Regions from separate parts of the Homo sapiens genome. Here regions 2, 3, 4, 5 and 6 are each linked to region 1. Evidence: promoter capture Hi-C in 16 types of primary human blood cells and fetal thymus (Javierre and others, 2016). All regions are on one chromosome and are shown on one strand. Each heading gives the region's core, a stretch centred on a gene start or on the middle of the fragment in contact. The rest is flanking DNA. Distances are from core to core; before and after follow the strand shown. Region 1 holds the start of TMEM130 (transmembrane protein 130). Region 2 overlaps TECPR1 (tectonin beta-propeller repeat containing 1). Region 3 holds the start of LOC124901705 (a long non-coding RNA gene). Region 4 overlaps BAIAP2L1 (BAR/IMD domain containing adaptor protein 2 like 1). Region 5 overlaps BAIAP2L1 (BAR/IMD domain containing adaptor protein 2 like 1). Region 6 holds the start of PDAP1 (PDGFA associated protein 1).

The links. The method cuts DNA at HindIII sites, captures the fragments that hold promoters and counts their contacts. A CHiCAGO score of 5 or more calls a contact.
Region 2: a fragment that was not itself captured here is called in contact with the fragment with the promoter of TMEM130 in region 1 in 8 of 17 cell types (naive CD8 T cells, total CD8 T cells, M0 macrophages and 5 more); the score reaches 7.1 in naive CD8 T cells.
Region 3: a contact is called between a fragment that was not itself captured here and the fragment with the promoter of TMEM130 in region 1, in 5 of 17 cell types (total B cells, naive B cells, total CD8 T cells and 2 more). The highest score is 7.3, in total B cells.
Region 4: a fragment that was not itself captured here is called in contact with the fragment with the promoter of TMEM130 in region 1 in 16 of 17 cell types (naive B cells, total B cells, M1 macrophages and 13 more); the score reaches 22.8 in naive B cells.
Region 5: a fragment that was not itself captured here is called in contact with the fragment with the promoter of TMEM130 in region 1 in 9 of 17 cell types (naive B cells, total B cells, endothelial precursors and 6 more); the score reaches 11.9 in naive B cells.
Region 6: a contact is called between the fragment with the promoter of PDAP1 here and the fragment with the promoter of TMEM130 in region 1, in 2 of 17 cell types (M2 macrophages and monocytes). The highest score is 7.6, in M2 macrophages.

What each region holds. Positions count from the first base shown.
Region 1 is chr7:98,868,109-98,871,500 of GRCh38, reverse strand. TMEM130 (transmembrane protein 130) reads left to right here and starts at 1,487. Exons shown (of 8, transcript NM_152913.3): 1 at 1,487-1,724. The coding sequence starts at 1,640. RefSeq lists enhancers at 1,417-2,002, 2,003-2,589. The HindIII fragment of the contact is 4,583 bases long and covers 1-3,116 here.
Region 2 is chr7:98,231,260-98,234,651 of GRCh38, reverse strand. It overlaps TECPR1 (tectonin beta-propeller repeat containing 1), which reads left to right. Exons shown (of 26, transcript NM_015395.3): 11 at 741-1,231; 12 at 1,680-1,825; 13 at 2,693-2,848; 14 at 3,279-3,392. Among named protein-coding and RNA genes, the nearest start is that of TECPR1, 19 kb to the left of the region's middle. RefSeq lists a silencer at 2,649-2,849. The HindIII fragment of the contact is 4,336 bases long and covers 1-3,392 here.
Region 3 is chr7:98,269,921-98,273,312 of GRCh38, reverse strand. LOC124901705 (a long non-coding RNA gene) reads left to right here and starts at 2,350. Exons shown (of 3, transcript XR_007060446.1): 1 at 2,350-2,456. The HindIII fragment of the contact is 5,981 bases long and covers 1-3,392 here.
Region 4 is chr7:98,295,318-98,298,709 of GRCh38, reverse strand. The region is part of intron 12 of BAIAP2L1 (BAR/IMD domain containing adaptor protein 2 like 1); the gene reads left to right. It also overlaps a transcript of BRI3 not described here. Among named protein-coding and RNA genes, the nearest start is that of BRI3, 15 kb to the right of the region's middle. RefSeq lists an enhancer at 1,570-2,071 and a silencer at 2,682-2,796. The HindIII fragment of the contact is 4,957 bases long and covers 1-3,392 here.
Region 5 is chr7:98,331,474-98,334,865 of GRCh38, reverse strand. All of the region lies in intron 3 of BAIAP2L1 (BAR/IMD domain containing adaptor protein 2 like 1), which reads left to right. Among named protein-coding and RNA genes, the nearest start is that of BRI3, 51 kb to the right of the region's middle. RefSeq lists a silencer at 522-722. The HindIII fragment of the contact is 7,452 bases long and covers 1-3,392 here.
Region 6 is chr7:99,406,823-99,410,214 of GRCh38, reverse strand. It overlaps PDAP1 (PDGFA associated protein 1), which reads left to right and starts at 1,618. Exons shown (of 6, transcript NM_014891.7): 1 at 1,618-1,679. The coding sequence starts at 1,667. It overlaps BUD31 (BUD31 spliceosome associated protein), which reads right to left and starts at 1,246. Exons shown (of 6, transcript NM_003910.4): 1 at 970-1,246; 2 at 46-181. It overlaps MIR12119 (microRNA 12119), which reads right to left and starts at 1,043; the gene lies at 951-1,043. RefSeq lists an enhancer at 1,190-1,579 and a silencer at 1,790-1,849. The HindIII fragment of the contact is 3,476 bases long and covers 1-2,980 here.

The DNA.
Region 1 (3,392 bases), core at 238-2,737:
GTGAGCAGTTCACAGTAGGGTTTGCGCTCCTATGAGAATCTAATGCCCTGCTGATCTGCCAGGAGGTGGAGCTCAGCGTGGCTCACAGGCCCTGCTCACCTCCTGCTGTGCAGCCAGTTCCTAACAGGCTATGGACTGGTACTGGCGGCCAGGGGCTTGGAGACCCCTGCTTTAGACGCCTTGATGTCAATGCACTGGGTGGTGCAGTGATGGTCCATCCGTGCTCCACGGGCCAGAGAGGAGGTCAAAGGCCCTCACTGTGTGGGAGGATCCCTCGCCCAGGTAGCCGTAGCAAAGCGGAAGCATAGCTGGGACCAGAACCCACCGGGCTTCCAGCGTTTAAGGCCAGCCAGGCCCCTCCAGCTTCTAGGAGAGCCCAGCCCTGCTCCTCTAAGGCAAATGGCAGTAACTGTGTAGGCTGGTCACCCCTCACCGCAGTAGCCTGACTCCCACAAGGCCCTCAGTGACAAAGAAGTTGCCCTGGGCCCAGATACGAGCAGGAGCCCCATCTTAACAGCAGCTGTGAGAGGGTAAACCGGGGGATGACATCAAGCCCACGGCAGGGGCCGGGTGCTCAGGCCCCTCTATCAAGAAGGGGCAAGAGGCTGGGCACAGTGGCTTACACCTGTAATCCCAACATTTTGGGAGGCTGAGGCGAGAGGATCACTTGAGGCCAGGAGTTTGAGACCAACCTGGCCAACATGGTGAAACCCCGTCTCTACTAAAAATACAAAAATTAGCCAGGCCTGGTGGCGGGCACCTGTAATCCCATCTTACTAGGGAGGCTGAGGCAGGAGAATCGCTTGAACCCGGGAGGCGGAGGTTGCAGTGAGCCGAGATCGCGCCATTCTGGGACAGAGCGAGACTCTGTCTCAAGATTAAAAAAAAAAAAAAAAGAAAAGAGGAAGCAGCAGCAGCAGCAGCAGCAAGAGGAATTTCGAGGCCTTTCGCCCAACGCCTGGCGCACCTTAAGCTCTCAACAGTTCTTGAATGAGGAGTAGCATCTCGGAGCCACGAGCGTGCAGAGAGAAGGCACCTGGAGGAGAGCCCCAAGGGACCTGCAGGCGGCTTGCAGCGCAGCGCACGCCCCTGGGGACGCTGAGTCAGAGCCGGCGGCATCGGATCCAGGGCGGGGAGGGGCTCGGGGGAAGGGAAAAATGCGGGTGCGGGGGGCGTGGTTTCGGGTAGTGGAGGGGAAGGATGCGGCCGGGGGTGGATTTGGGGTGGGGAGGGATGCGGGGAGGAGCCAGGGCGCAGGAAGGGAGCTCTGGAACCCCTAGAGGGGAAGCAAGCTGGGAGGGGCGATCGTGGACTCCAGGAGGGCAGGGGGCGCGGCCGTGGGAAGAGACCCGGAGAGGGAGGACGCGGCCGTGGAGAGGGACGCGGGAGCAAGGGGCGGCGGGAGGAGGAGGAGGGCGCGCGGCGCGGCTGACGTGGGCCGGGGTCGCGCAGCGGGCTGTGGGCGGCGGCGGCGGCGCGCAGCGACAGAGCGTCCCCCGGCGAGGACGAGCGAGCACGGCGCCCGCACCTCCCCGCACCGCCCGCGCTGCGCGCCCGGAGGAGCGACCGCCGCAGTTCTCGAGCTCCAGCTGCATTCCCTCCGCGTCCGCCCCACGCTTCTCCCGCTCCGGGCCCCGCAATGGCCCAGGCAGTGTGGTCGCGCCTCGGCCGCATCCTCTGGCTTGCCTGCCTCCTGCCCTGGGCCCCGGCAGGGGTGGCCGCAGGTAAGGCGCTGGGCAATCCGGCCTCCCTGCAGCCGCAGCCCGCCCGGGGCCTGGAACCGTCTCAGCGGGCGAGTGGGCCCGGGAGCAGGGATTGCGGAGGTGGCACCGTGCGCCCTGCGCGCATCTCCCTCCTCGGCTGAGGCCACTGCAGCGCCCTTTCCCCTCTCCTTTCATCCTTGTTCCCCAAAGTCGCCTGGGCACTGGAGGGGGCTCCCCGCACCCCCTGGATTCCTGCTTCCACCCCCCCAGGCTGGCCCTGCCCTGGAAACCGCGCGGGGGTGGCCGGCGCATCCGTCGATGCCTGGGGACCATGCACCCGCTAAGGGAGGGGAGGACGAGGCAGGGAGGCGGGGATGCGCCAGGGTCCGTCATCGCGCCACAATTCCCCAGTCCCCCAGGGAGCACGGGATGGGCAACGTTTTTGCCTTAAAATGTCGCCTCATCTAGAGGGGTTTCCCACCGTGTTGGTGCTGGCTTTGGGGAGATGCGAATTTAGAGCCCAGGAGGCCAGGCTGCCATTTCCTCTCTGGTGGTGATTTCCAAAATGGACCCGGAGCTGACAGGTTCCTGGGGTGTGTGTGTGGGTGGGGGAGTGGGGGAAGCAGGGTTGTGTGTCTACTGCCCCCACTTCCCCACCGCCAGAAAGCCAGCACCCACCTCTCTGCCACATTTTGGGAACCATAAAAGGACCCAGATTTAAGACTATTCGAGGGACAGATGGGACGTGGGCAGCTAAGAAGGTTGAATACTATCCACCACTTTTCACCCCCTCCCCCCTCATAAAAGAGCGGTGGAGAGAGAGAGCAAGGGATCTAATGAAAATTTGTGAAAGAAAAACCATGAGGTCAAAGAAAACCTGCAACTCAGGGATGAATTAGACGAATTTTATGGGAATTGCACTTGGACAAGATTACCTATTTCCTCCTGGAAATACAGGAAAGGGGTCTCTTGTCCATCAGGTTGATTTGTGTCAGAGATTTTCAATGTGTCCTAAATTGCAAAAGAAAAAGAAAATAATAACAAAAGTGAATTAATTATTTGGAAATCATGTGTGGTTCCCATTCTAGCCAATTGCACCCTTGATGTGGTCAAAATCACAGTGGCTAAGAGTGGAGTTGGGAAACATCTTCTCCCTCACCCGTCGGGGAGACTTTTCTACCCTTCCCCTTTCTGGAGTCCATGAATCAGGGATTTGTAAGTCAGAAGTCCATGTACTGGACTATTAATTAATTCTGGGTTGTGTTATCCAGACTTTAGAGGTACTCTTTGGAAGTGTTTTGGGTAGTCTGCATATTCTGTGTGAAAGGACTGGTGTAGCCATTTTCTAGAATGTTCAGGGCTGCACATGCTGTGTTGCTGGAAAAGGTAGGTGTTTCTTCCATGGGCCAAGCTTTGGGGTGAGTGCCCCATCTCTTTTTGCTTTTGCCCCTTGAGCTCTGGGTGACTTGGGGGGCCCTTGGAGTCCCCTAAACCTCTGCCTTGGCTGCTCCATACCCCAACTCCATGTCACATGGACTCCCAAACATGGAAAGATGAATTTGTTTGTTTGAGATGCAGTCTTGCTCTGTCACCCAGGCTGGAGTGCAGTGGCACAATCTTGGCTCACTGCAACCTCCACCTTCTGGGTTCAAGAAATTCTCCTGCCTCAGCCTCCCAAGTAGCTGGGAT
Region 2 (3,392 bases), core at 378-2,877, 640 kb after region 1:
GGTAGGAATGTGAAATGGTACAGCCACTGTGGAGAACAATTTAGCAATTCCTCAAGACATGAAACCCAGAACTGCCATGTGAGCCAGCACATCCACTGCTGGGTGTATATCCAAGAGGCTTGAAAACGCGTTTTAGTCCATTTTGTGTTGCTATAAGGGAATCCTGAAGCTGGTCTTTTATAAAGAAAAGAGGTTTATGATCGGGCGCGGTGGCTCACGCCTGTAATCCCAGCACTTTGGGAGGCTGAGCCCAGCGAATCACTTGAGGTCAGGAGTTCAAGACCAGCCTGCCAACATGGTGAAACCCCGTCTCTACTAAAAATACAAAAATTAGCCAGGCGTGGTGGTGCATGCCTGTAATCTCTCAGCTACTCGGGAGGCTGAGGCAGGAGAATCGCTTGAACCTGGGAGGCGGAGGTTGCAGTGAGCTGAGATTGTGCCCCTGCACCCCAGCCTGGATGACAGTGAGACTCCGTCTCAAAAAAAGAAGAAATACTAATTCTAGATCTTCACTCTCAGATATGTGGATGTGATTGGTCTGCAGGGTGGCCCAGGTGTCAGCTCCCTGGAAGCAGGTGCTGATGTATACCTTGCACAGAGGAAGAGACAGGAGTTCAGAGAGGTTCTGACTTGCCCAAGTTTCCACAGGCAGTCATGGTGGAGCACGCTGGAGCTGGGCCTGCCTGACAGCGCCTGTTCCCCTGCAAGGGAGTGATGGGTCTGCCCTGATTTGTCCCCAGTGCCGGCTGCTTCTTCGGTGATGAGGTGAGGGGTAGTGGCGAGTCTGCCCCCAGCGACACCGATGCCTCCTCGGAAGTCGAGAGACCAGGGCCTGGCCAGATTCTCCCTGCAGAACCTCTAGACGATTCCAAGAATGCCACAGGGAACTCAGCCTCAGGCCTGGGGGCTGGCAGGACCGCAGAAGATACCGTGGAAGATGCCTGCCCAGCCGAGGGCAGCAGGGAGGCCAGACCCAACACGCACCCCGGCCCGGCCCCCACCCCGGCCGAGCTGCCCTGGACCAATATTGACCTCAAGGAGGCCAAGAAAGTGCCCAGCCACTCGGCCGCTGGCTTCCCCGAGACCACCAGCCTCTCCTCTCTGGGGCTCCTCCCACTGGGCTTGGAGGAGCCGTATGGGGTGGATGACCACCCGCTGTGGGCCTGGGTGTCGGGAGGCGGCTGCGTGGTGGAGGCATGTGCCATGCCCAGATGGTTCACTGTCCAGGCGGGTAAGGGCTCCTGCAGGGCCTGGGGGCATCCACATGGCCAGGTGCCCTGGGGGTGTGGGGTGTGGGAGGAGGCCGGGGTCAGGGGGCTCGGGCAGGCCTGCTGTCCTCCCTGGACGCCTCACTGTGCTCAGCAGCTCTGAGCCAGGCATTGCGCTCCTCTGTGGCCTCCAGAGACCAGCCCGAGGCTGTCAGGACCTGGAAGCACGGTGGCCAGTGCCCCTTCCCCTGTCTGCAGCCCCTCCCCTGTGCTAGCGGTGGTGGCTGCTTTCCAGGCTGAATTACTGGGGGAGAGCAACTCATCCAACAGGGCAAAGGGTGGAAGGAGGCTTAACAGAGAGCGTAGCTTTTGAGCTAGAAAGGGCTGATTTGGTGGAGGGGAGCGCCGTGGCTTCCTGCCCAGCTGCGGGCAGGACAGTGCCCCGGCCCTGAGGCTCTCTCTGCCCCACAGGCCTGTCCTCCTCGGTACACATGCTGTCCCTGTCCATCACGCCGGCCCAGACCGCTGCCTGGAGGAAGCAGATCTTCCAGCAGCTCACGGAAAGGACCAAGCGGGAGCTGGAGAACTTCAGACACTACGAGCAGGCCGTGGAGCAGGTGGGTGCCCCGGTGGCTGCGCATGCATTTTTTTTTTTTTTCCAGCAATCATTCATTGAGCGCCTGCTGTGTACCAGCTCTGAGAGAAACAGATAGATGCCTCCATCCCCTGGTCTCCCGCCCAGATGCAGGCATAGAGAAATGAGCTCAGGGTTTCTTCGTCCATCCTGAAGACTTTGGTTTGGGCCTCACTGTGTTCCAGACTCGTTGGAGGCCCTGGGGACCCAGAGACGGCAGCAACCTCAGAGGGTGGTGGGTGGGGAAGGGAGGGTGGCCAGGGAGGGGAACCACGTCATCCTCTTCCTGCTGGAGGGAACCCCGGGCGCCCAGGGGTGTAGCGTGTGATTGCAAGGAGTTAGCACAGAGGGCGGCCGGAGACCCCACCCCTGGGCTGACCCTGCTTCTGCCCCACTATCCTGTGGCAGAGCCCGGCCCTCAGAGGTCAAGTGTGGGGGTGACAGGGAAGTCACACAGAGCATGTGACCTGCCTCATTCCAAAGGCCCCTGGACACAAGTAGGCTGTGGTTTGGGTTCTAGCTCTGCCGCTGGCTCACTCTGTGACACCAAAGCCAGGCACGGAACCCTCCCGAGCCTGTCTCCCCATGCAGAAGGCGGGATGGCAGTGCCCACTCTGGCTGTTTGAGAGAGAGGAGGTTGTACGGAACAGCCCTGGCTCAGCCTGCACCTATTGGGTGTCCGGCAGCGTCACTGTTATCATTAGCATAGGGGGAGCTGGGCTGACAGCCGGGAGTGCTGGGTGGGCCCTACCCCAGCCCTGCCTCCTCCTCTGGGCACCCCCAGCCCCGCCCTCCTCCCCTGGCACCCCGGGCCTGCCTGTGATGGTGTCCACTGCCCCGGCCTGCGCAGTCGGTGTGGGTGAAGACCGGGGCGCTGCAGTGGTGGTGCGACTGGAAGCCCCACAAGTGGGTGGACGTGCGCTTGGCCCTGGAGCAGTTCACGGGGCACGACGGCGTCCGGGACAGCATCCTCTTCATCTACTATGTGGTCCACGAGGAGAAGAAGGTGCCCACGGGTCCCACAGGAGATGGGGCCAGGGAGGGGACACAGGGCTGGGGTGCTAGAGGAGGGGTACAGAAATGGGGGTGCCCAGGGGAGGGGTACAGAAATGAGGGTGCCCAGGGAGGGACACAGAAATGAGGGTACCCAGGGGAGGGGTACAGAAATGGGGGTGCCCGGGGAAGGGGGTACAGAAATGGGGGTGCCCCAGGAGAGGGAGTACAGAAATGGGGGTGCCCAGGGGAGGGGGTACAGAAATGGGGGTGCCTGGGGAGGGGGTAAAGAAATGAAGTACCAAGGGAGGGGGCAGGGCTGGGGGTGCCAGGAGAGAGGGTGTCCGAGGGCCAGGGTCCCAGGGTGAAGCACAGTGGGGGTCACCCTCCAGAGGCCTCCTGCCCTGGGTGACAGCCCTGCCGGGCGCCTGTTCTGTGAACAGTACATCCACATATTCCTGAATGAGGTGGTGGCGCTGGTCCCAGTGCTGAACGAGACCAAGCACTCCTTTGCCCTGTACACCCCTGAGCGGACACGGCAGAGGTGGCCGGTGCGT
Region 3 (3,392 bases), core at 326-2,825, 600 kb after region 1:
AATAAACTGAAGCCAGGCACGGTGGCTCATGCTTGTAATCCCAGCAATTTGGGATGCCGAGGTGGGCAGATCATGAGGTCAGGAGTTCCAGACCAGCCTGGCCAACACAGTGAAACCCCGTCTCTACTAAAAATACAAAAATTAGCTGGGCATGGTGGCAGACACCTGTAATCCCAGCTACTTGGGAGGCTGAGGCAGGAGAATCACTTGAACCCGGGAGGCGGAGGTTGCAGTGGGCTGAGATCACACCACTGCACTCCAGCCTGGACGATAGAGCTAGACTCTGTCTCCACAAATTAAAAAATTTTAAAAAATAAAATAGGCCGGGCACGGTGGCTCACGCCTGTAATCCCAGCACTTTGGGAGGCCGAGGCGGGCGAATCACAAGGTCAGGAGATCGAAACCATCCTGGCTAACATGGTGAAACCCCGTCTCTACTAAAAATACAAAAAATTAGCTGGGTTCGGTCGTGGGCGCCTGTAGTCCCAGCTACTCGAGAGGCTGAGGCAGGAGAATGGCGTGAACCTGGGAGGCAGAGCTTGCAGTGAGCAGAGACTGCGCCACTGCACTCCAGACTGGGCGACAGAGCAAGACTCCGTCTCATAAGTAAAATAAAATAAAATGAATAAAATAAAATAAAATATAAAATAAAATAAATAAAAAATAAATAAATAAAATAAAATAAATTGAGAGTGCCTAGATGGCAGGGAAGATGCCAGTGGAGATGACTGATGCTCTTTGGGATCTCACTCGATAGTTTTGGAGATTACAAGTGTCATTCAGGGAAAATGAGGCACCTCTGTGACTTTTCTATTCTCTATCAGATGACAATGAAAGTTATCCTGATTGTTGGCCAGGCGAGGTGGTTCACGCCTGTAATTCCATCACTTTGGGAGGCCGAGGCGGGTGGATCACCTGAGGTCAGGAGTTCAAGACCATCCTCGCCAACATGGTGAAACCCCGTCTCTACTAAAAATACAAATCTTAACTGGGTGTGGTGGTGCACACCTGCAATCCCAGCTGCTCAGGAGGCTGAGGCAGGAGAATTGCTTAAACCTGGGAGGTGGAGGTTGCAGTGAGCCAAGGTTGCGCAACTGTACTCCAGCCTGGATGACAGAATAAGACTCCATCTCAGAAAAAAAAAAAAAAAAAAGTTATCCAGACTGACAGAAGGTCTTTCCCTATGGGATCTGTTAGCTGTGGTTTAATTTATGATGGCATGTTCTCACTTATATGTGGGAGCTAAACGATGGGTACCCACAGACATACTGAGTGGCAGAATAGACATTGGAGACTGAAACAGGTGGGAGGGCAAGAGGGGGGTGAGGTCTGAAAATCACCTGTTGGGTACAATGTTCACGATTCTGGTGACAGGTGCACTGAAGGCACAGACTTCAGCACTATGCAATACCTGCATGTAAGGCATCTGTCCTTGTGGCTGGCTGGCTGCAGTGTCTCACGCCTGTAATCCCAGCATTTTGGGAGGCCAAGACAGGAGGATTGCTTGAGCCCAGGAGTTTGAGACCAGCCTGGGCAACACAGCAAGACCCCGTCTCTACAAAAAAAAATTTAAAAATTAGCCAGTCATGATGATGTGCACCTGTGTTCCCAGCTACGCAGGGTGCTGAGGTGTTTTAAGGCTGGGAGGTTGAGGCTGCCGTGATTTGTGATCGCGCCACTGCACTCCAGCCTGGGCAGCAGAGCGAGACTCCATCTCAAAAAAAAAAAAAGCCGGGCACGGTGGCTCATGCCTGTAATTCCCTCACTTTGGGAGCCAAGGTGGGCAGATCATTTGAGGTCAGGAGTTCAAGACCAGCCTGGCCAACATGGTAAACCCCATCTATACTAAAAATACAAAAACTAGCTGGGTGTGGTGGTACACACCTGTAATCCCAGCTACTTGTTAGACTGAAACAGGAGAATTGCTTGAACCCAGGAGGCGGAGATTGCAGTGAGCCGAGATCGCGCCACTGCACTCTAGCCTTGGGCAACAGAGCGAGACTCCGTTTCAAAAAAAAAAAAGAAAAAGAAAAAAGAAATCTGTACTTGAACCCCCTGAATACATAAACATTATAAAATTGAAATAATCTATGATGGTAGAGAGAATTGAAGTGGAATTTGAGGCAAACTTGTCCCCAGTCACCAGAGCTCTGAGTTTGGTGACAGGAGGCATCATCTTTGGTTAGGATGAAGCAGAAAAATGACCACTCCCAGGTTGAGATGGAGAGGTCACTTCCTTTGGTCAGTAAGGGAGCGGCTTTCAGGACTCACCCCCAAGCAATGATGTTTGGGGGGACCCTCTCAGGGCCTATAAGGATCTGGGTCTCCTCCTCTCCGTCATTATTCTATTTTGCCAGCAGTGCCCAGAACTCGGTTCTGCTTCAAGCCGCAGAGTGGAGGAGAAGGCACCGAGGCTTGGAGATGCTGTTTCATAGAGTCTTGGCTTTGCAGCACATGTGAGCTTGGGGGGCAGCAGTGGGGAGGGGTTCTCCAAAGAAGAGAGGCTGCCATGGGCGAAGAGACAGAGGGAAGGAGCCCCCAGGGCCTCCCGATGCCACTGTGGCAGGAGGGTCCCCTCTCCACTCCCCCATCCCTTCTCCCCAGCAGGTAGCCCCCATCCTCTCTCTGGCCCAGCCCACCCTCCACTGCCTCCCTGGTCTGTTCCGGGGGCTCCTACCTTCAGCTTGCACTGTGGAGGCCATGGCTGTTCTTGGGGACACGCCCAGGAATGATGCGGGGATGCCTCAGTACGGGGCAGCGGAAAGCCCCCTTAAACTCCAGCAGAAGCCAAGCAGTCACCGGTGGGCCAGCGACCGACATGAAGGAGGGACCGGACAGATGGCCAGGGGGAAGGAGCCATCGGGGGCGTTGGGAGGCCCGGGAGGAACTGGACAGAGCCAGGTCTCACCGGGGACAGAATGCGGCCTCACAATCCTGCCCCACCGCCAAGATTCTCAGGTTCTGAGCCTGGAGTCCGACTGCTAGCCAGCGACTCATGGCGCCCACAGCCAGGTACCACCCCTCAGAGCCAGGATGGTTTGGGGAGAAGCTGGATTAATACCAATGCCAAGGGAATCCTTGATAAAAACCCTGACTTATGAGAATTGGCAACGGAGAACCAGCCACATGAACACAATGTGACAAGACAATGCCCAAGTTGCCAAGTGACAAATGCCCAAGCCAGCAGCCCAGTTTCAGGCTTTCCCTGAGGCCCTAGAAAGTGTCTTCAGGGGCCAGGCGTGGTGGCTCACGCCTGTAATCCCAGCACTTTAGGAGGCTGAGGCCAGCGGATCACCTGAGGTCAGGAATTCGAGACCATCCTGGCCAACATGGTGAAACCCTGTCTCTACTTAAAATACAAATAATTAGCTGGGCGTGATGGTATGCACCTG
Region 4 (3,392 bases), core at 421-2,920, 570 kb after region 1:
GCTGATGATGTTGGGGAAAGCTGTGTTATATCCCAGGCCAAACACTGGGATCCATGAGAGCTGGGAAAGCATCCTCATGTTTTTTTTGTTTTGTTTTGAGACAGAGTCTTGCTCTGTCACCCAGGCTGGAGTGCAGTGGCACCATCTCGGCTCACTGCAAACTCCACCTCCTGGGTTCACGCCATTCTCCTGCCTCAGCCTCCCGAGTAGCTGGGACTACAGGCGCCCGCCACTACGCCTGGCTAAGTTTTTTGTATTTTTATTAGAGATGGGGTTTCACCGTGTTAGCCAGGATGATCTCGATCTCCTGACCTTGTGATCCGTCTGCCTCGGCCTCCCAAAGTGCTGGGATTACAGGCGTGAGCCACCGCACCCAGCCCCTAATGTTTTTTAAAAGCATTTTTATACATGGTTTTATATCCAGCTCCTGTGAGTTACAGGTCGTGTGACACTGGAATGCTTAACCTTAGGTGTCCATAGAGCATCCCACTCACCTGGGAAGCCCCACAGCTGTCCTGTGACGGCGCGTCTTATTAGACGATCTGAGAGCAGGGGCTTCTCCCAAGGGGGCAGGGGAGACTTGCCAGGACTCAAGCTAGGGGTTTGCCACAGGTCACGTGATATCTCTTTAAGTTTTTATTAACAATGATAAGATCCTGTTATGTTGCCCAGGCTGGTCTTGAACTCCTGACCTCAGGCAGTCCTCCTGCCTTGGCCTCCCAAGGTGCTGGGATTACAGGCGTGAGCCACTGTGCCCGGCCTGAATTTTTTTAATTTACGTATTTTCTACTGCAGTTCCAAGTGAGGAAGTATTGGCTCCCTCCCAACATTTTAAATAAGCACACAGCTCTCCTTTGTAAAAGCAAGCCTGCATTTCACAGCGCGCCCTCACGTGGCGTGAGCCCCTCCTGAGAGCCGCCAGTGCCCCCGGTGCAGGCCTGCACGCATCTTCGTTTGCGTCACAACATGGGTGCCTCGGCTTCCAAAAAGATCCCAGTGGCTCGGAGCAGTTGGCTTTTCCCTGTTTGGGCCTCAGCGTCCCCCTTTTGAGAATAAAGGGGTTGAACTAGATCAGAAGTGAACTGGAAGACAAGTCCGGGCCACAGACGAGGACTGGAATGGGTTTTCACACTGAAGACAGGTGTCAGTGAGGGCCACTTTTGTTGCGAGTAACTGGCCTCCAGCTGGCTTGGAAATGTTCCTTAGGGCTGTTCCATTCTGCTCAGGAGCAAGGCCACCTGCACTGGCCCTGTTCACTCTGTCCTGCCCTCTGCAGTGAGGGCCACCAGCATTCTCTGCTGCAGCCCAAGGGAAAAAGTGGTGCTCGGTGCTCCGAGCTGCCCGGGACCCCTCTGAAAGCCAGGTCAACTAGTCCCCCAACCTGGGCGCATGGCTATGTGGTGGGCACCCTGGAAGCTCCGTACAGTCGGGAAGGGGGTGTGGACCAGGCATCGAGTGATGGGTGGTCAGCCAGTGTCCACACACACATTTTGGATTCTTGGATTCTTGCGGGAGATGGGGGATCACAAGATGTGTCCACCCTGGCCGCAGTCAGCCGCTTGGTGGCCTCGCTCTATAGTCTCCAGTTGCAGCCCAACCACTCTCGTAGTGGCTGCTGGTTTCGTGGCCTTAGTGGTCTCCTGTCTTGTTGGGGACACAGGACATGCAGCAGGCAGTGCCCGCGGGGCCCTGGGTGCCGGTGGCAGTGCTGCCTGTGGCTTGGAGGTGTCCCCCACTGCAAGGAAAGGGAACAGAGAGGAGGGCAGGTCTATGTTCAGTGACCACCACAGTGGGCTGAGTGTGAGGTATGCGGTTGAGACAGGGACGCAGGGAGGATGCTGTGAGACCCTTGGGGGCCACCAGATAAGAGGCACCGTATGTGCCAAGCCCCTGCCCTCGTGGGTCTCCTTTGCAGTGGAGAGGGAGGCAGAGAGGCTCCTGCCAGCCTTGTATCCAGAAGGAGTGCTGGGGTTTCAGGTCCCTGAGAAACATGCAGATGTTAAACGGGAAATCTGCCTGAACACGTCCAATATGTTTTTGTTGTTTCTGTTTTTGTTTTGTTGGTTTTTTGTTTTTTTGTTTTTTACAGATGGAGTCTCACTCTGTTGCCCAGGCTGGAGTGCAGTGGTGCAATCTCAGCTCACCACAACCTCTGCCTCCCTGTTCAAGCGATTCTCCTGCCTCAGCCTCCTGAGTAGCTGGGATTACCGGCGTGCGCCACCACACCCAGCTAATTTTGTATTTTTAGTAGAGACGGGGTTTCTCCATGTTGGTCAGGCTGGTCTCGAACTCCCGACCTCAGGTGATGCGCCCACCTCAGCCTCCCAAAGTGCTGGGATTACAGGCATGAGCCACTGTCCCTGGCCCAATACATATTTTAAAGTAAACATTGTATTACAGAATACCACAGACAGAAAAGCACACAATGAATTTTCATGATGTGACTCCGTATACCCAGCAGGACGTTCCCGGCCCCCACGATCACCCAGCATGGCCCACCTCCGTGACCATCCCTTCTCCAACACCAGACTCCCCAAGCCCTGGCACAGAGATGGCTGTCTGGGGTGGCCCCGTAGGGACAGTCGCTCAGTGCTGTGTGGTGACCTGCTGTCTGCACAGAAGCTGGTTCTGACTCTCCCATTGACGGGCGTCTGGTGTTTCTGGTCTGGGCTGTTTCTCCAGGGCTGCCCGAGTGTCTCGGTGCCCATGGGTGTGTGCCCTGCTTGTTCCTACAGGGAGCAGGATTGTTGGGCCCCAGGCATGCGTGCACGGGGTTGGCCCAACACTGAGTGGCTTCCAGCTGTCATCTTAAGCGTTCTTTTTCCTCCTCAGTCCTCCTGGCAGGAGTCGGTGCTTCTTGCTGCGTTCTTTGTGAGGATTTACTGGGACCTTTTTAAAGTCCCGTGGGGGCCCAGGAGGCTCTGAACAAGCTCCGGGGTGTGCTTGGGGTGGGTGGAGGGTGTTTCTGGTTTCTAGTTTGGGAAGCGCCTTCCCCTAGCATAAGCTGCACATGTGAGGGAGATGGTGTTGGCCCCAAGGAGTCAGATGACTCCAGTGGGAGAGGAGGGGAGGGCAGAGTGGAGTCAGGATTGGCATGAATCGTGCCTCAGGCCCAGCCATGGCCCTTCTGCAACAGAGTCCACGAATGCCAGCACCGTGAGCACATGCGACAGGCACCCTGGTGCATTTAAATCATAAATTAGCCCATCATAATCGCAGAGCATGCACCTCACACCAGCAAGGACTTCCTCTGAGGCCTGCTAGGGAAGCGTTGAGTGCCCCGCAGGAAGTCACTTTTGCGGCCATTTAAAGCCCTGTAGGATGTGCAAGGCAGGTCAGTGGCTTTGTGCTCCAGTGATGAAAAGCAGACAATGAATTGGCCCCAGATGCCC
Region 5 (3,392 bases), core at 382-2,881, 540 kb after region 1:
GGATAAATTTTTAAAAACTTGGCCAGGCAAGGTGGCTCACGCCTGTAATCCCAGCACTTTGGGAGGCCGAGGCGGGCGGATCACCTGAGGTCAGGAGTTCGAGACCAGCCTGACCAATATGGTGAAACCACATCTCTACTAAAAATACAAAAAGTAGCTGGGCGTGGTGGGGGGCACCTATAGTCAGTCCCAGCTACTCGGAAGGCTGAGACAGAATTGCTCGAACCTAGGAGGCAGAGGTTGCAGTGAGCCGAGGTCGTGCCACTGCACTCCAGCCTGGGTGACGGAGCAAGACTCTGTCTCAAAAAAACAAAAACCCCTTAATGAGCCTCGTTATTTTGTGTGCCAGGCTGCAGATTCTGGGTTTGTATGTTCTTGTTTCAAATTGAAATAAGAATTGGTATTATTAGGACTAAAAGGTTTTGAGTTATTAAAAAAAAACTGACTAATATTTTAGAAGTATGAGTTCAAAGGTAAAATAAAAATTACTAGGTGACTGAAGAGGCATATTAAATGGTGAGCTCTTTACAATGAAGCTGGACTTTTAGACTCCAGAGTAAGCCTGTTCCTATAACTCTTGGGTGCACTGATGCTGATCTGTGTGACTCAGGCATTTAAACTCGAAGGCAGGGCTGTTAGTAGCTTCCATTTTTATAACTATAGAAATTTGTTACCTACTAAGATCTCTCTTTTTCTTCTTATTTGATTAAACATTTTAATCTTAGGCCATGTTTATTCTTCTGCCTAATTTCTCATTTCATATTAACATTTTAAAATAGCTTATGAGTCCCCCGGGAAGTTTAGAAATGTACTTTCATTTTAAAATGGGAATTAAAATATACTTTATGTGTTTTTTAAATGTATACCTTTACTGAGAAATGAACCTAATAAACATCAAACTCAATTTCTAACTTTATTATTTTTAAATGCCTCTTTTTACATAATTAAACCCTGTGCCTATAGACTTTGTGCACCGCTTTTTAAAATGTAACATTCCACACATGAGCCTTGGCACCATCGTGGAGCCGTGAGCCAGGGAGGAAGATGAAGACTGGAGTACTGGGATTGGGTACAGGGTTTGTTTCTTCTTGGTTCGTGGGGAAAATTGTCCCTTAGTTTGGGGAGGGTGGGCGGGGTAGTTATCCCTTGGTATTCTGAAAATGACATAAAACCAAATGTCTAATAATCAAGAAATTGCAGTAGTTTTTCTTTGATATTTAAATACCAGTGTGCTCATTTATTTTATATTTATTTATTTATTTATTTTGAGACAGAGTCTTCCTCTGTTGCCCAGGCTGGAGTGCAGTGCCATGACCTCAGCTCACTGTAACCTCCACCTCCCAGGTTGAAGTGATTCTCCTGCCTCGACATCCTGAGTAACTGGGATTACAGGCGCCCACCACCACGCCCAGCTAATTTTTTGTATTTTTAGTAGAGGTGAGGTTTCACCAAGTTGGCCAGGCTGGTCTTGAACTCCTGACCTCAGGTGATCCGCCTGCCTCGGCCTCCCAAAGTGCTGGGATTATAGGTGTGAGCCACCGCACCTGGCCCAGTGTGCTCATTTAAATGAACATCTCCTGTCTCGTAGGCATTGTTCTAGTTGCTGGGGATAAATCAATGAAACAGAAGTCCCTGCCATCAGGGAACTAACATTCTAGTGGGGTGGACAGATAAACAAGTCTAATATCCAGGTAGTAATAAGGCAAGGGGCCACTGAGTGATAGAAGGGGTGGGATGCAGCTGTTTTAGGTAGGGTGGTCAGGGACGTGCACTGCGGGGAACTCATCAGGCAGGTGTCTGGGGAGAACATTCTAGTGGGAGCTGGCAAGTGCAAAGGCCCTGAGGCTTTAGTGGGCTTGGGTCACACATGTAAGCCAGTGTGGCTGAGGGGCAGGCGAGGATGAGGTCTGCAGACAGAAGGCATGAGGCTGGGTCGCGTAGGGCTTTGAGAGTCCTGGCAAGGGCTCTACCTCTTAACCCCGGGTGCAGATGGGGCTTCTGGAGGTTGTCAACTGAGGAGAGATGCCAGCTAACTTTTTTTTTTTTTTTTTTTTTTGGGGACGAAGTCTCATTCTGTAACCCAGGCTGGAGTGCAGCGGCGTGATCTCGGCTCACTGCAACCTCTGCCTCCCAGGTTCAAGTGATTCTCTTGCCTTAGCCTCCTGAGTAGCTAGGATTACAGGTGCCCACCACTAGGCCCAGCTAATTTTTTGTATTTTTAGTAGGGATGGGGTTTCACCTTGTTGGCCAGCCTGGTCTCGAACTCCTGACGTTGTGATTCGCCTGCCTTGGCCTCCCAAAGTGCTAGGATTACTGGTGTGAGCCACTGCGCCAGGCCTGTATACTTTGTTATACTTTTTAGAGGAGACATCTTTACTAAGTACTACCTTAGGTATTGGAAGACTAGATTGTACCTCACTGAAAAGGTGACATTAAATATCTAGAATGTTGTCTTTTTTTTTTTTTTTTTTTTTTTTTTTTTTGAGATGGAGTCTTGTTCTGTCACCCAGGCTGGAGTGCAGTGGAGCGATCTCGGGTCACTGCAACCTCTGCCTCCTGAATTCAAGCAATTCTCCTGCCTCAGCCTCCCGAGTAGCTGGGATTACAGGTGTGCGCCACCACACCCGGCTAATTTTTATATTTTTGGTAGAGACAGAGTTCCACCATGTTGGCCAGGCTGGTCTCTAACTCCTGGCCTCAAGTGATCCACCCGCCTCAGCCTCCCAAAAGTGCTGGAATTACAGGTGTGAGCCACTGCGCCCAGCCCTGTTCCTTTCTTTATGTAGATCCAAAGTTCCGACCTATGTGATTTTTGTCTCTGAAGAACTTCTTTTAACATCTTTTCCCAAGTCAGACCTACTGGTAACCAATCCCCTCAGTTTTTGTTTGTCTGAGAATGTCTTTATCTCTTCTTCACTTTTGAAGGATGATTTTACTGAAGAATTCTATGTTGGTGAATTTTTTCTTCCAACACTTAAGTATTTTACTCCACTCTCTTCTTGCTTGCATGGTTTGTAAATAGAAGTCTGATGTCATTCTTATCATTGTTCCTCTAGAAGCAAGGTGTTCTTTTCCTCTGGCTTTTAAGATTTTTCTTGGCTAGGCATGGTGACTCACACCTGTAATCCCAGCACTTTGGGAAGCTGAGGCAGGTGGATCACCTGAGGTCAGGATTTCGAAACACAGTCTGGCCAACATGGTGAAACCCCATCTCTACTAAAAATACGAAATTAGCTGGGTGTGGTGGTGCATGCCTGTAATCCCAGCTACTCGGGAGGCTGAGGCAGGAGAATCGCTTGAACTCGGGAGGCGGAGGTCACGGTGAGCCGAGATCACGCCATTGCACTCCAGCCTGGACGACAAGAGTGAAAGTCTGTCTCCAAAAAAAAAAA
Region 6 (3,392 bases), core at 369-2,868, 540 kb before region 1:
AAAACATAAAATAAAAAGGGAAAGATGACTGTAAAATCAAAGTACCTTAGGATGTGCTTTCCAAGAGTATAGACAGCAGAAAGATCTCTCGTCTCTGCAGTTGCAGGCTTGGATTCTTGTTCAGCTCTAAAAAATTATTCTGTGACTTTCAGGTCACCTTCCCTCTCTGGTCCTGTTTCTTCTGTAAAATGAGGGCAGTGGATTGGCTGATTGCCAAGGTCTCTTTCACACCAAACAACATATTACATAAAGTCAGGTAGTTCCCATACAAGAGGCCGATCCCAATCTAAATAGCAAAGCGTTTTTCAAACCACACAGCATTTCCTTGCTGCCAGAGAGAACCCAGGTTAAGTATTTACCTTTCAGCATAACAGATTCATCTCTCTCAAATTCATTCAGTCACTCCCTTCTGTACTGACACTTTACAAAGACCCACCCCCCCCCCGCCCACAGAGCCTCCTCTCATGAACTCTCTAAAACAACCATATAGAGGAGGAATCAAACTCTATAAGGTAGAATCAGGGTCACACAGCTGAGAATTTGCAAAACCTGACTCTGGAGGGCTCCTGACTCCCAAATCAGTGGTCTTCGCACTAGTCTCCCCTACGCTGAAGCTAAAAATAGGTGAATTCTGGTCTCGGCCCCAAGGCGCATAGTCTGTGACAAGAGAATGATCGCTTTTCTACGACCCAGGGAAATTCGAGGGCCCTGATCCAGCCTGGAAGTCAGAAGAGGCCTCTCGGAGGTGAAAATGGTAGGCGGTAACCAGATCGAGGAGAAAGAGGACGTAGGAGGTAATCAGATCGAGAAGAAAGATGTGCCGGGAGGTGTAAGAGAGATTGGGGCGCTAGGGGAAGGAGGCGAGGAGGAGCGAAGGAAGATAGTGCAGGATTGTAGGGAAAACTCATAAAAAGGACAGCATCTGAACCCAGCTTAGAAAAACAATCAGAACACAGAAGACGTTCCTACCAGAGGAAACGGCGCGAGAATCCTAGAGGAAAACCCCCAAATCTACCGTCCCCTCAGAAGAACGAACGTGGCGCCGCCTCCTCTCGGGAGCTCTCTCCGGCCTCAAGGTCCAAAGCCCGAACACATCCCAGTGGCTGGCTGAGAGTCCAGCCACTCATATCTCCCTCCAGGACGGTGCAGACCACCGGTCTCCCGCCTCAGCCGTTGCCAAGGTAATCGAGAACAGAGGGAAAACACATACCGGAAGCTCCTGGAGCTTGGGTAGCTGCTTCTCGACAGAAGGCTTCCGCTCTTCAGGCGATCTCTAAGGCATGAGGTCCTTGCGGAGCCCCGCCCTACCCGCGCGGAGATTGCGTCATCTTAGGTGTCCTCAGCAATGCCTGTATAGAATTCCAGAGCCGCTGTTGCCATTTGCCCTCACTTCCGGTGGGTGGCAGGCAGGGCCACGCGTCTTCCCGAACGGAGAGACTAGGGGCGTTGTTGCCTGGCAGCAGACGGGCAAGCCTGGACTTAGGCGGCGCGCAGGACGGTCCGACTTCGTGCGGAGGCCTCCCTGAGGTCCGGGTCCTTGCGGCCACTGCGGCCACTGAAGCGGCGGCGGCGGCTGGCCCAGGAGGAAGAAGTCGAGCCCAAGCTATTTCCGGTTCCGGTGTCAGTTCGAGGCGCCGCCGCCGCCGCCGCAGCCGCCGGAGCCGCAATGCCTAAAGGAGGTGAGGGGCGGGCGCCGGTGGCCCGCAGGCCTGGAGGGGCGGCCCAGGTCCGGCTTCCGCTGTCCCCTCAGCCCGTGCGCGTCTCTGAGAGCAGCGCAGAGGGAGGCTGTCCGCACCGGCTGAGAGCCAGGCCTGGGCCTCGACGCCCAATTGTCCCGATGGGGAAACTGAGGACTGTGGTGTCCCAGAGTCACTCCGTCAGTGGTCTGAGGAGTTTCGGAAGCTCTGGGTCCTCGCCGGCCTAGAAAGCCGGATCTAGGATGCGCTTCTCCGGGTCTAGGGGTTCTGGAATTTATCCCACTCTTTGGCTGGCTAGGAACTGAGTCACCGCGTCCCGCGCTTGTGCCGGGCCCGCCTGCCTCTCGCGTAAAACGTGGGCTTTTTCTGGCTTCGGTTCAGCCAGGCCTGCCTAGGAGGACTTAAGGAGATGCCCATGAGCCTTCCAGACCTGGTTTCGACTCCCCCGTTCGGTAGCGGCTCGGTGTGTTCCTTTGAGCCAGTCGCTCCACCTCCTGTGTCTCCGTTTTCTCATTTGCCAATGGGAATAACGATTGTACCTACCTCTTAGTACTGTTGGGAGGCTTCAACTAGGTAATCCACGTGGAGTGCGCAGTACAGTGCCAGGCAGTCGTTAAAAGTGCCCAGTGAAGCAGTAACTATTCTTATTTTTAAGGCTTTGCCAGCTCTTGATCTTGTAAGTAGGTTCATGACTGCCCAGTCCATTGTAGCCCGTCCTCTATCTTCTAGCCCGTTCTCTATCCTGTTTCCCCCTTTAGAATCGATAGTCCCCAGTTTGAATCCCAGCTATGTCACGTCTAATTCTGTGGCCCTGAACAAGTTAACCTCTTCCTCATCTGAAACACTGGGCTAATCCTTAGCTTGTTGAATTGGGGCCGGGGTGGTAAAATTATAGCGCTCATAAAGTGCCTGGCCACCTCCTGGCACAGAACAAATATATTTGTGTTGGTAGCTCATGTGTTATATTGGTTAATGCACTCAACCCACAGAAACATCTGCCTGTAGCGTTTTCAAACCTAAATCGCTTCCTGACTCCAGAGATAATTGGGCATTACAGAGCTAAATGTGTTTAAACCTAGCTCTCTACTGATTTATTCTGTGGCTGGAAAAGTCTCTCTGCTATTGTTCCCCAGTCCCTTCATCTGTAAAAGGAGGTTGCTGAATGAGCCATCCTCCCTCCGAAGTTTTACTTAATGGATACTTTGGGTAAAGGTTGGAGGTTACAACGATAAAACCTTAAATATGAATTCATAGCTAAATGGTCTTTGGGCTTGTGAAAAGCTTTTTGGGGTAGACAAGGTTTACATTTTCTTGGGTTAATCTGAAAACCACAAAAAACCGTGAAGGTGTTAAAAGTATCAAACTCCCTAAGAGCAAAGGACCAACGCTTGTTTCCATTATGTTAAGTGCAAATCGTTTTTTAAAGTCTTGAAGAGTCTACTATAAAATTACTGTGGACCAAGCTAAGGTCAGGGTCCCATAGCCAAGTGCATGAGAGGAGAGCCTATAGTAATCAATTTTGAGTTGTTACTGTTGCCTGGTGTATTAAGAGAGCAAGAAAGGGTGTTGGTTTTTTTCTTGGCACACTTGCTCTCTCACAATAGGACTTTAATAAGCATAGACTTAGACACCCCTGGGAACCTAGGTAGTCATTAAAAATGGGTGGTGTGATCTTTAGCAGCCCAATTATGGCTT